Linked DNA regions of Homo sapiens: all the other regions are linked to region 1. The links are contacts of gene promoters, found by promoter capture Hi-C in human tissues and cell types (Jung and others, 2019). All regions are on one chromosome and are shown on one strand. The core of a region is centred on a gene start or on the middle of the fragment in contact, and the rest is flanking DNA. Distances in the headings are between cores, read along the strand shown. Region 1 holds the start of OR8B4 (olfactory receptor family 8 subfamily B member 4). Region 2 holds the start of OR8B12 (olfactory receptor family 8 subfamily B member 12). Region 3 has its middle 33 kb from the start of OR8B12.

Evidence for each region. The method cuts DNA at HindIII sites, captures the fragments that hold promoters and counts their contacts. A contact is called where the count stands out against the background at its distance.
Region 2: the fragment with the promoter of OR8B12 here is called in contact with the fragment with the promoter of OR8B4 in region 1 in 3 of the 25 tissues and cell types used here (heart left ventricle, neural progenitor cells and ovary).
Region 3: a fragment that was not itself captured here is called in contact with the fragment with the promoter of OR8B4 in region 1 in 2 of the 25 tissues and cell types used here (dorsolateral prefrontal cortex and mesendoderm cells).

The regions. Positions count from the first base shown.
Region 1 is chr11:124,423,271-124,426,631 of GRCh38, reverse strand. It overlaps OR8B4 (olfactory receptor family 8 subfamily B member 4), which reads left to right and starts at 1,761. Exons shown (of 1, transcript NM_001005196.1): 1 at 1,761-2,690. The coding sequence starts at 1,761. The coding sequence ends at 2,690. The HindIII fragment of the contact is 10,487 bases long and covers 1-3,361 here.
Region 2 is chr11:124,542,128-124,545,488 of GRCh38, reverse strand. OR8B12 (olfactory receptor family 8 subfamily B member 12) reads left to right here and starts at 1,835. Exons shown (of 1, transcript NM_001005195.1): 1 at 1,835-2,767. The coding sequence starts at 1,835. The coding sequence ends at 2,767. The HindIII fragment of the contact is 12,708 bases long and covers 1-3,361 here.
Region 3 is chr11:124,508,986-124,512,346 of GRCh38, reverse strand. No RefSeq gene overlaps it. Among named protein-coding and RNA genes, the nearest start is that of OR8B12, 33 kb to the left of the region's middle. RefSeq lists enhancers at 1,138-1,771, 1,772-2,406. The HindIII fragment of the contact is 4,409 bases long and covers 1-3,361 here.

The sequences.
Region 1 (3,361 bases), core at 512-3,011:
CAAGTCCAGACACTTCTGAGAGTGAAAGGGTATGCTATTAATAATTATACAGAGATAATGAGTGTAAGTCAGGACTGTCCCAGGCGAACTGGGATTATTTTAGGTAGCCTTAGTGAAACTTACAAATGCAGATGCTCCCATGTCTTTGAATTTTTCTTAAAATATTCATCTAGCAGATCATATGGAGAGCAGCTTTGTCATCTGAATAATGGCAGGATTAGACCCTTACATCCATCTCCCATTATACCTTAAGCCTGCATGCCTAGAGAGTAACTCTGTGTAGGGGTGTGTGTGTGTGTGTGTGTGTGTGTGTGTGTGTGTGTGTGTGCTTTCTAGCATATGTGTTGTGATATTTTAATCTCTTCATATATAGTAAAGGCCTGTCTGCGGCCCTTATTAGAGCTGCGAGTAGGTGGTGTTTGTGGTGGAGGTGGTGTGGTTTCTGTTCTGAGCAGCGCATGGTCCAAGAAGCCTTTTATCTGAGGTGCTCTCTGTAGATCTGATCTGACCTTTTCTGAGGGGTCCTACTCTCATAGCTCCCTGTGAAGATTTGGAGATGGTGGCTTAGGTTGGGGCTATTCACTCTTAAATTCAAGCTTAGGCTCTGAGAGTTAATGAGAAAGGAAAAAATGAGTCCCCAAACTCAGCACTGAATAACATGAAATCCCTGGAGTAGAGGGAAAGTTTGAGTGGAACCCCCACTCCCAAGATGCTAGGTAAGCACCGTTATCCAGGCTGTAAACAAAGACAGTGCAATTCCTTCCCTATAGAGACAGATCTTGGAGAAATTCCCAGGGGAAACTGTGTCTAATCAGGTCCCTGAGATCGTCAAGCAGCTTAAATTCCTCTGTGATATGACAGCTGGGGTTCTGGTCAAAATGAGAGTTCCTAGTTTTTTTTCCTGAAGTTGTCAAGACCACCTGGGAAAATCCACAAACAGAAACCATGGTCTATTCCTTGAGCACCTTGGAGCCTGGGGTCTGTAAAAGCTCTGATTCTCAGCACCAAGGGAGTCAAAAGAGGTAATACGCAAGGCTGTGTGCTTTCTGCACAAGCAGCACCATTTTCTCTTTCTGGCTAATGGAAAAAGAGATGGCGTAAGGCCCAGCACTGAGTGGGGCCCGGGAGAAGGAAGGTGAAGGTCCGAATCCTGTCTTTCCTGATGGTCTCTTTGAAACCCACAACCAAGGGCTCTGGGAAGTATGGATCCCGTCTCTGCTCTCAACACTGACCCTGAGGTGAGATGGAATGGAGGGTCTTCGAGGAGGCGGGTGGGATGTAAAGAGCCAGCAGGTAACACTCTTGGCTTTCTCTCCAGATGGAAATCCACTATCTAGTTGGGAGACGGAGGCAGAGAATGGGAGGGCATCCTGGTGACCTTGAGAGCTCTGGTCTCTCAGCTCTTGAGGCAGCGGCCCAGGTTGTACTCTTGGTTCTCAGGGTGTCTTTCTGAGAGTCCCTGGGCAGCCAATTCAGGTGTGTTGTCTCCCTCGTCATCTCTCAAGCAGAGACGGAATTCTTGCTGCCCATGGTAACAGATGCTAGCTTGAATTCATGATCGGCCCAGCAGAGCTGAGATCCTCTCACAGACACGTTGTTAATACCTCAGGGTGGGGAGGTGTGTAGATGAGGGAGGATGGAAGAGAGGGCATCTGCACACTGGCTGGTCCACTAGAGTCTTCTTCCCTTAGCCATGCTTGTGCCTGTCATGACTCTTTGTGTTTTGCCCTCTGCTTCCCCAGACAGCTCGCCAAGAGAGAATGACTCTGAGAAACAGCTCCTCAGTGACTGAGTTTATCCTTGTGGGATTATCAGAACAGCCAGAGCTCCAGCTCCCTCTTTTCCTTCTATTCTTAGGGATCTATGTGTTCACTGTGGTGGGCAACTTGGGCTTGATCACCTTAATTGGGATAAATCCTAGCCTTCACACCCCCATGTACTTTTTCCTCTTCAACTTGTCCTTTATAGATCTCTGTTATTCCTGTGTGTTTACCCCCAAAATGCTGAATGACTTTGTTTCAGAAAGTATCATCTCTTATGTGGGATGTATGACTCAGCTATTTTTCTTCTGTTTCTTTGTCAATTCTGAGTGCTATGTGTTGGTATCAATGGCCTATGATCGCTATGTGGCCATCTGCAACCCCCTGCTCTACATGGTCACCATGTCCCCAAGGGTCTGCTTTCTGCTGATGTTTGGTTCCTATGTGGTAGGGTTTGCTGGGGCCATGGCCCACACTGGAAGCATGCTGCGACTGACCTTCTGTGATTCCAACGTCATTGACCATTATCTGTGTGACGTTCTCCCCCTCTTGCAGCTCTCCTGCACCAGCACCCATGTCAGTGAGCTGGTATTTTTCATTGTTGTTGGAGTAATCACCATGCTATCCAGCATAAGCATCGTCATCTCTTACGCTTTGATACTCTCCAACATCCTCTGTATTCCTTCTGCAGAGGGCAGATCCAAAGCCTTTAGCACATGGGGCTCCCACATAATTGCTGTTGCTCTGTTTTTTGGGTCAGGGACATTCACCTACTTAACAACATCTTTTCCTGGCTCTATGAACCATGGCAGATTTGCCTCAGTCTTTTACACCAATGTGGTTCCCATGCTTAACCCTTCGATCTACAGTTTGAGGAATAAGGATGATAAACTTGCCCTGGGCAAAACCCTGAAGAGAGTGCTCTTCTAATGGGTCTCTTCATATCACTGGCAACCGATTCTCGGTAAGCATGATACTCAAGTGTCTTTCTATTTATAGGCGGAGGAATTTTAATATTTTTCCTCAAAGAGGGTCTCCTCTCCACTTTTAAAAATTGGAAATCTCTTTCCTATACTCTCCTTGAGGACTATATTATTTTGCAACAATTAAATTGGCTCACTGCCTGCAAGTTAGTGTCTATGAAATGCCTTTTGTTTACTGAACTCTGTATTAGGCCCAAGAGATGAGTAAGATGAGGCTCCATGCCTTCCATTCTTTTCTTGGTAGGCTAAATGGGTTTTTCTGAGCAAGAACGTTTCTGGCTGGAACAAGGGGCAGGTGGTGGTATAAAGGTTGAGGAGTGTTTTCTCTTTAGTTACATAAGCAGACTTATTAAAGATCAATGGTAGATACCTTGGTGCCAGTGCTAATATGATTATATATCCAGCTCTTCAGGAGGTTGCTTGGTCAGGAAGATCATAAACCCTCCTTTTCATATACATGTATGTACATAAAAGAAGCCCTCACACAAGAATTTTCTATGATCTGCTCTGTAAGGATAAATCAAATCCAAATCTTTTATTTCAAAGTTCTAAAGCTTCTGGGCCTTGGAATGGTAATCAGGGGTAAGTGATCCTGTGTAATTGGGCCAATTTCTTAGG
Region 2 (3,361 bases), core at 586-3,085, 120 kb before region 1:
TGCTCAAAGAAAAGTGGGTGGAAGGCAGGGACAGCCAGAGGGAATTTTGACTAGTTATTAATTTAGAGAAAGGCTGGTCTTGGTAGACATTGAGAGCAGTTACCTGATAGGGATTCTTGTTACCATTAAACATACACTCCATGAGAGGACAGGGGAGGGGAACGAGAGAAGTATGTTCTTGTCTGAGCTGGGACTAGAGTAGTGCAATTAATTCCTGAGGTGAGTGGAATATGAATAAATTATTGAATAGCCTATTCTAAATTACAATAGCCCTTTGTGTTAACCTTTCCAGGCTCTAATTGCTTCCTTTTAAAACTTAAATTCATTGAATATTTACTTGTTATTTTCCAAGAGACTGTCAGATCCAAGAAGGCAAGGGCTCTGCTTTATGGATTTCAGTAGCTGTCCTTGGGAGGTAGTTTAGTCTAGCAGCTACATAAGGGGCTTGGAGTCAGACAGACCTAAGCATACCTGTGGACTCTGAAACATCTTGTCTCTGTGAGCAACTTACCTGTAAAATAGGTATTGTGAGAAATAAATAAAGATATGTTTGTATATGTGTACTCTGGATCTTGGCAGCTGGAATAAGGGTACTATGTCAGGTACTAAATTATTGGGTATTCAAGAAATGGTAATGACAATCATTTTTTTCACAATGATTTTCTCTTAATAGTACAGGATACATGTTAGTAGAAAGCCAAATCAAGCAATTCCAAGAGATAAACAAACATTTCTTCTTCTCTAGGGAAACTAATTGCTAAGCAAGTGGTCTTGAGGGAGTCTCTATCTTAATGGCCAGATCATTGAGGTCTGTAATCCAGAATAAAACTCTTTAGTCTTTTGTTATTCACTGGTCAGGAAAAAGCTTTGTCTCCTTCCTGGAAGCTGGAGAGGCCTTTGGGCAAATGAACAATTGGAAGTCATGTCCTTCAGTGCAGGAAGTGTTATGAGATACATTAGAGGTTCTGATCCTTTGACCTGTACTGGGAAGAGAGGGCTTTGAGCTCAGATCTGTCATCTTGTCTTCACTAGGGTCATCTTCCTCCCCAGAATGTGAAAAAGAGGCAGTAGAGTATAGCATTTATGGCTCTAAAGGGAAGGAAGGTGAGTGCCTGCCCCGATGCTGGTCACTTATGTAACATGGTGATTTCAAGTGCAAGCCATTTGAGCCATACTGCCGAAATTCACCTTCTGGCTGCAGGTGGTTTGGGGACTTTTGTCTAGTTATGTCATCTTACTTGTTTCATCTGTAAAATGAAGATAATAATATTGCTACATGGCTCTTCAAACAGAACCTCTTATAGTAACCACTCAATAAGTGTCAGCTTTAAAAAATTATTAAATGTACAGCCACTTGAGCTAAGAGATCTTGGAAAAGCATGAGCTCACCTACTTAATCTGACAGTGTGGACCCAGAGGTGGAAGCTCTGAGCAGAGCCACTGTGGCTTCTGCATCTCAGGATTCCCTTCAGGGAAGAGGTCCAGGTTTTACCAAGTGAAGCAGAGACAGGAGAGGGAAAGATATAGAAAAGGGACTGACCTAAGGATCTAAAAGACATTTGGATTATTTTTGGTACCCCTTTCTTCAGCAGATCCAGCTCTCATTCTGCAGTTACAGTTGAGTCTCATATTACACTTTGGGAGTTATAATCACTCGGACTGTGAAGATAGACCCACAGTGAGTGGTAAAAACCTTCCTACCAAAGTTCAAATCTCTCTCCTTGGATTCCTTTTCTAAGAATGGGAGATAGAGACTAAGAATGTGGTGGTGATGTTTCTTTCTAAGTGGTCCTCTTCTCTTGTCCCCTCCGACTCTCCTGCCTGACCAAAAAGAATGGCAGCCAAAAACTCTTCTGTGACAGAGTTTATCCTCGAAGGCTTAACCCACCAGCCGGGACTGCGGATCCCCCTCTTCTTCCTGTTTCTGGGTTTCTACACGGTCACCGTGGTGGGGAACCTGGGCTTGATAACCCTGATTGGGCTGAACTCTCACCTGCACACTCCCATGTACTTCTTCCTTTTTAACCTCTCTTTAATAGATTTCTGTTTCTCCACTACCATCACTCCCAAAATGCTGATGAGTTTTGTCTCAAGGAAGAACATCATTTCCTTCACAGGGTGTATGACTCAGCTCTTCTTCTTCTGCTTCTTTGTCGTCTCTGAGTCCTTCATCCTGTCAGCGATGGCGTATGACCGCTACGTGGCCATCTGTAACCCACTGTTGTACACAGTCACCATGTCTTGCCAGGTGTGTTTGCTCCTTTTGTTGGGTGCCTATGGGATGGGGTTTGCTGGGGCCATGGCCCACACAGGAAGCATAATGAACCTGACCTTCTGTGCTGACAACCTTGTCAATCATTTCATGTGTGACATCCTTCCTCTCCTTGAGCTCTCCTGCAACAGCTCTTACATGAATGAGCTGGTGGTCTTTATTGTGGTGGCTGTTGACGTTGGAATGCCCATTGTCACTGTCTTTATTTCTTATGCCCTCATCCTCTCCAGCATTCTACACAACAGTTCTACAGAAGGCAGGTCCAAAGCCTTTAGTACTTGCAGTTCCCACATAATTGTAGTTTCTCTTTTCTTTGGTTCTGGTGCTTTCATGTATCTCAAACCCCTTTCCATCCTGCCCCTCGAGCAAGGGAAAGTGTCCTCCCTGTTCTATACCATAATAGTCCCCGTGTTAAACCCATTAATCTATAGCTTGAGGAACAAGGATGTCAAAGTTGCCCTGAGGAGAACTTTGGGCAGAAAAATCTTTTCTTAAGAAAGGATTAGTATTGGAGGAAGGAGATACAATGCTTTGCTTATTAGTGTGTGTTTTCAGTGAGATTCAAGTTCCATTTTTTTCCTGTCTTGTACAGAAAAAGAATTTTAAATCTTTACATTTGGATGAGTGTTAAGTGCAGACATATTCTCCCTGTCTCTGCTTCACCTAGTTATTCCAGGATTTCTTCATTTTATGCAAATTTTTCTATAATCATAGACCATTTAATCGTGAATTGGCCTTACACATTATTTAATCTAGTCTCTTCAATTAACATGTGTTGGAGACTCAGAAATACATATGTTGCTCAAGGACACACAACTACTTGGTGCCACAACTGGGAATGGAATCCAGGTCCTTGAATTCCAGGCTGCTTTTTTTTTCTTTATGTCATTTTTTCATGCTTCATTGCTGCCCTTGCAGATATCCTTTTAAAAGTAAGAAAACTTAACACATTAAAACCTAATTCTATTCATAGTAATTTAATGTGACCTCTCAATAAATAATTTTTAAATATTTCATTTTTTTTCAAGAGGATAGAAGATGAAACATTTTCTTAAGTTGGTCTTCACCAAATGAGAAGAGAATTGTGTC
Region 3 (3,361 bases), core at 440-2,939, 86 kb before region 1:
AGAGTTTTGTCGCTTCTTAGGTGATGAAGAAAATTCATTTTTTAATAATATTTTTATGGCTTCATTCTTTTACATTGGGATGTCTCATCTATTTAGAAATTATACCAGTGTATCATGTGAGGAATAGATCCAACTTTGTCTTTTTTCTTATGGTTACCCAGTTATTTTATTGTCATTTATTAAATAGTCCCTCTTTTTTCTACTTTTGAGCTCCTGCCTTTATCTCATACTGAATTTCAAAGGCAGCTGGGCTATTTCTGTGTTTTTCCATTCTGTTCCATTGGTCTATGTATCTGTCTACCCATAAGCCAATATCACACTACTTTAACTGTAGAAGCTTCATTATGTTTTCATATCTTGAGGGTAACCTCCCACATATTGTTCCTCTTTTTTAGGGTTTTGCTGACTATTCATGTTTAACCATAATCTTTATAATTAATCTGTCTAGCTCCAGAAAAAAACCTGATGGCATATTTGCTGCACAGATGCATTTAAGATTGCATCTTAAATTTAGAAGTAAATTTAAGGAGAATCAAAATCTTTGGATCTTGAGGCTTCCAATCATAAACTGTGATATGCCTTTCCATGTCTTGGGGGTCTACTTTAGTATCTTTTAAGAGTGTTTCATAATTCCTTATCTATGTTTTGCATATTTCTTATTATAATTGTGCTTGGGAATTTTGTTTTATTTTGTCTTATCTTTCATTAGATATTATTATTACTTATACATATGCATTCGATGTATTACTCTGTTAATTATCTACTTTGTAATGTAACTGTTATTATTTGTAGAGATTTTTCTATAGATTCTCTCAGGCTTTCCAAATACATAATAAATTTTATCTGTATAGAGATAGCTGTAATTTTTTCCTCCTGACACTTATGCCTCTTATTTCTTTCCCATTTACACCTGCATTTTCTAATAACTTTAATACAGTGTTAAATAATTGCTTACAGTGAAGGCTGTAAGCATCCTGGTTTTGATGCTAGTGTTTCCAAAGTAAGTTGCTGGCTTTGGGCTGAAATTTATATATTTTGCCATCTTAAAGAGGTATCCATCATTCCTTGATTTAATGAATATTTTAAAAACATGAATGGAAACAAGAGGAGGGCAAGACGGCTGACTAGACGCAGCCAGGTGGAGCACCTTTTACTGAGGGACTGAAATGACTGGCGTGCTCCTAACAGATCTTCAGAGGGAAGGCACTGAGGGTGGATGGAGGGAAGACACAGAAGCTGGGGTGAAGGGGAAGAAAGCTGGGAATGTGCATGGAGCTGCCATGCACGAGGACTCATTCCTGGCCCCCAACAGCTCTAGGGGAATGAGTGAGTTGAACTGGCAAGGAACAACCTGCTCTCACCACGGGGCTCTGGAACCCCAGTAGGAGGAGACCCTTCGGCCACCACGGACATTCTAGTTGGCAAGGAGGGCTGCTTAAAGAAGTGGTTTGGGCAGCAAGCCTGATTATGAGCCCAGAGGGTTTGGTGTGGAAGTATCCGTAGCAGAGCATGGGCAGGGACAGCCATTCCCCTAGGCTCAACTTACTCCCATAGGAGACTTTAGCCCAAGAAGGACAGTCAGACCTCAACTCTGCAGGGCAGTCTTGCCCATCAGACAGGGCTGGTTTGACCTGAGCAACCCTTGGGCTGCTGGCCTCTCCTGGGTCCTCAGCCTGGCTGTGCCTGCCTGCAAGGCAGTCTCAGGTGCCATGGGGGCTGCATCATAGCTTCTGCACTGGCAGATTGTGCCTGACTGGTAGAGAGCTCCCAAAGGGCAGCCTCTATGGCCACACACCAGCCCACATGCTCCCTCTCTCCTCATATGGTAGCTTCCTTCAGGCCCATGGCAACCCCCAACCTTGCTTTGCTGGTGAGTGCCTGCGTGGGCAGGTTTTGCTTTCCTTGCCTTGCCGGTGTGCAGGAATGCAGTCTGCCCTGCCGTCCCCTGACTGCCATTGCAGACAGAGCCTTGGAAGCAAAGACCCAGCCAGCTCTATTCCCGCCAGTGCCCCACCATTGTGCTAACAGTGGATCCTCCCTTGCCCTAAGTGATCACTCCTGCTTGTGGGGCACAGAGGAAGCACCCAGACTTGTGCCTACAAGTGCCCCACCCCTGAACCAACACCACTTCCAGTGTGACAGTGCACACAGTTGCCAGCAAGGCCCGCCCCCCACGTCCCCCAGCTATGTTGCCTCTGCCACTGTGGTAAACACCTGCAGGGAGGCAGGCATCCCGGCACCCACTAGCACCCTGCTGCACCTGCCGTTACCTCTGCTGCTGGCATGTGTGAACAAGGACAGATCACACTGTCACTGCACTATGAAATGCTTTGGCTGACACCACCCATCAGAGTGTAGTGACCAGCAGTCCAGTAACACCTCATCCCCCACCAGTGCAGTGGATTACTAACCATAAGGAGCCAGAAAACAAAGTTGGGGCACAATACAAGTCCCCCAGAGTTAGAGCACACAGTCCAGGAGTTGGGAGCTGCATGTTGGCCCCCTAAAATCTTTCAGATACAAAACCAGTCAGCTGAATCCACCTTATACCACAATCAAACCCTCAAGGTCATCAAATACGATAAAAGGAAAAAAAAATCCATCCAAAGTCAGCAACATCAAAGACTGAAGGTAGATAAGCCCACAAAGATGAAAATGAATCAGTGCAAGAACCCTGACAACTCAAAAAGCCAGAATGCCTTCTTTCCTCCAAGCAACCACATCACCTATCCGGCAAGCGGTCTGAACTGGGCTGAGATGCTTGAAATGACAGAAATAGAATTCAGAATATGGATAGGAATGAAGGTCATTGTGCTACAGGAGTACATTGAAACCCAATCCAAGGAAGCTAAAAATCATGACAAAACAATGCAGGAGCTGACAGACAAAATAACCAGTATAGAAAAGCACATAACTGACCTGATAGAGCTGAAAAACACACTACAAGAATTTCATAATGCAATCAATCATAAGTATTAATAGCAGAATAGACCAAGTGGAGGAAAAAATCTCAGAGCTTGAAGCCCAGCTTTCTGAAATAAGATGGTTAGACAAGAACAGAGCAAAAAGAATGAAAAAAAATGACTAAAACTCTGAGAAATATGAGATTATGTAAAGAGATCAAATCTATGATTCCTTGGGGACTCCGAAAGAGATGCAGAGAATGGAACCAACCTGGAAAACATATTTCAGGATATCATTCATGAGATCTTCCCCAATCTAGCTCTCTCCCCAATCTGTCTCTAGAGAGGGCAACATTCAAATTCAGGAAATGCAGAGAATCCCAGTGAGATACTTCACAAGAAGACCATCCCCAAGACACATAATCATCAGATTCTGTAAGGTCAAATGAAAGAAAAAA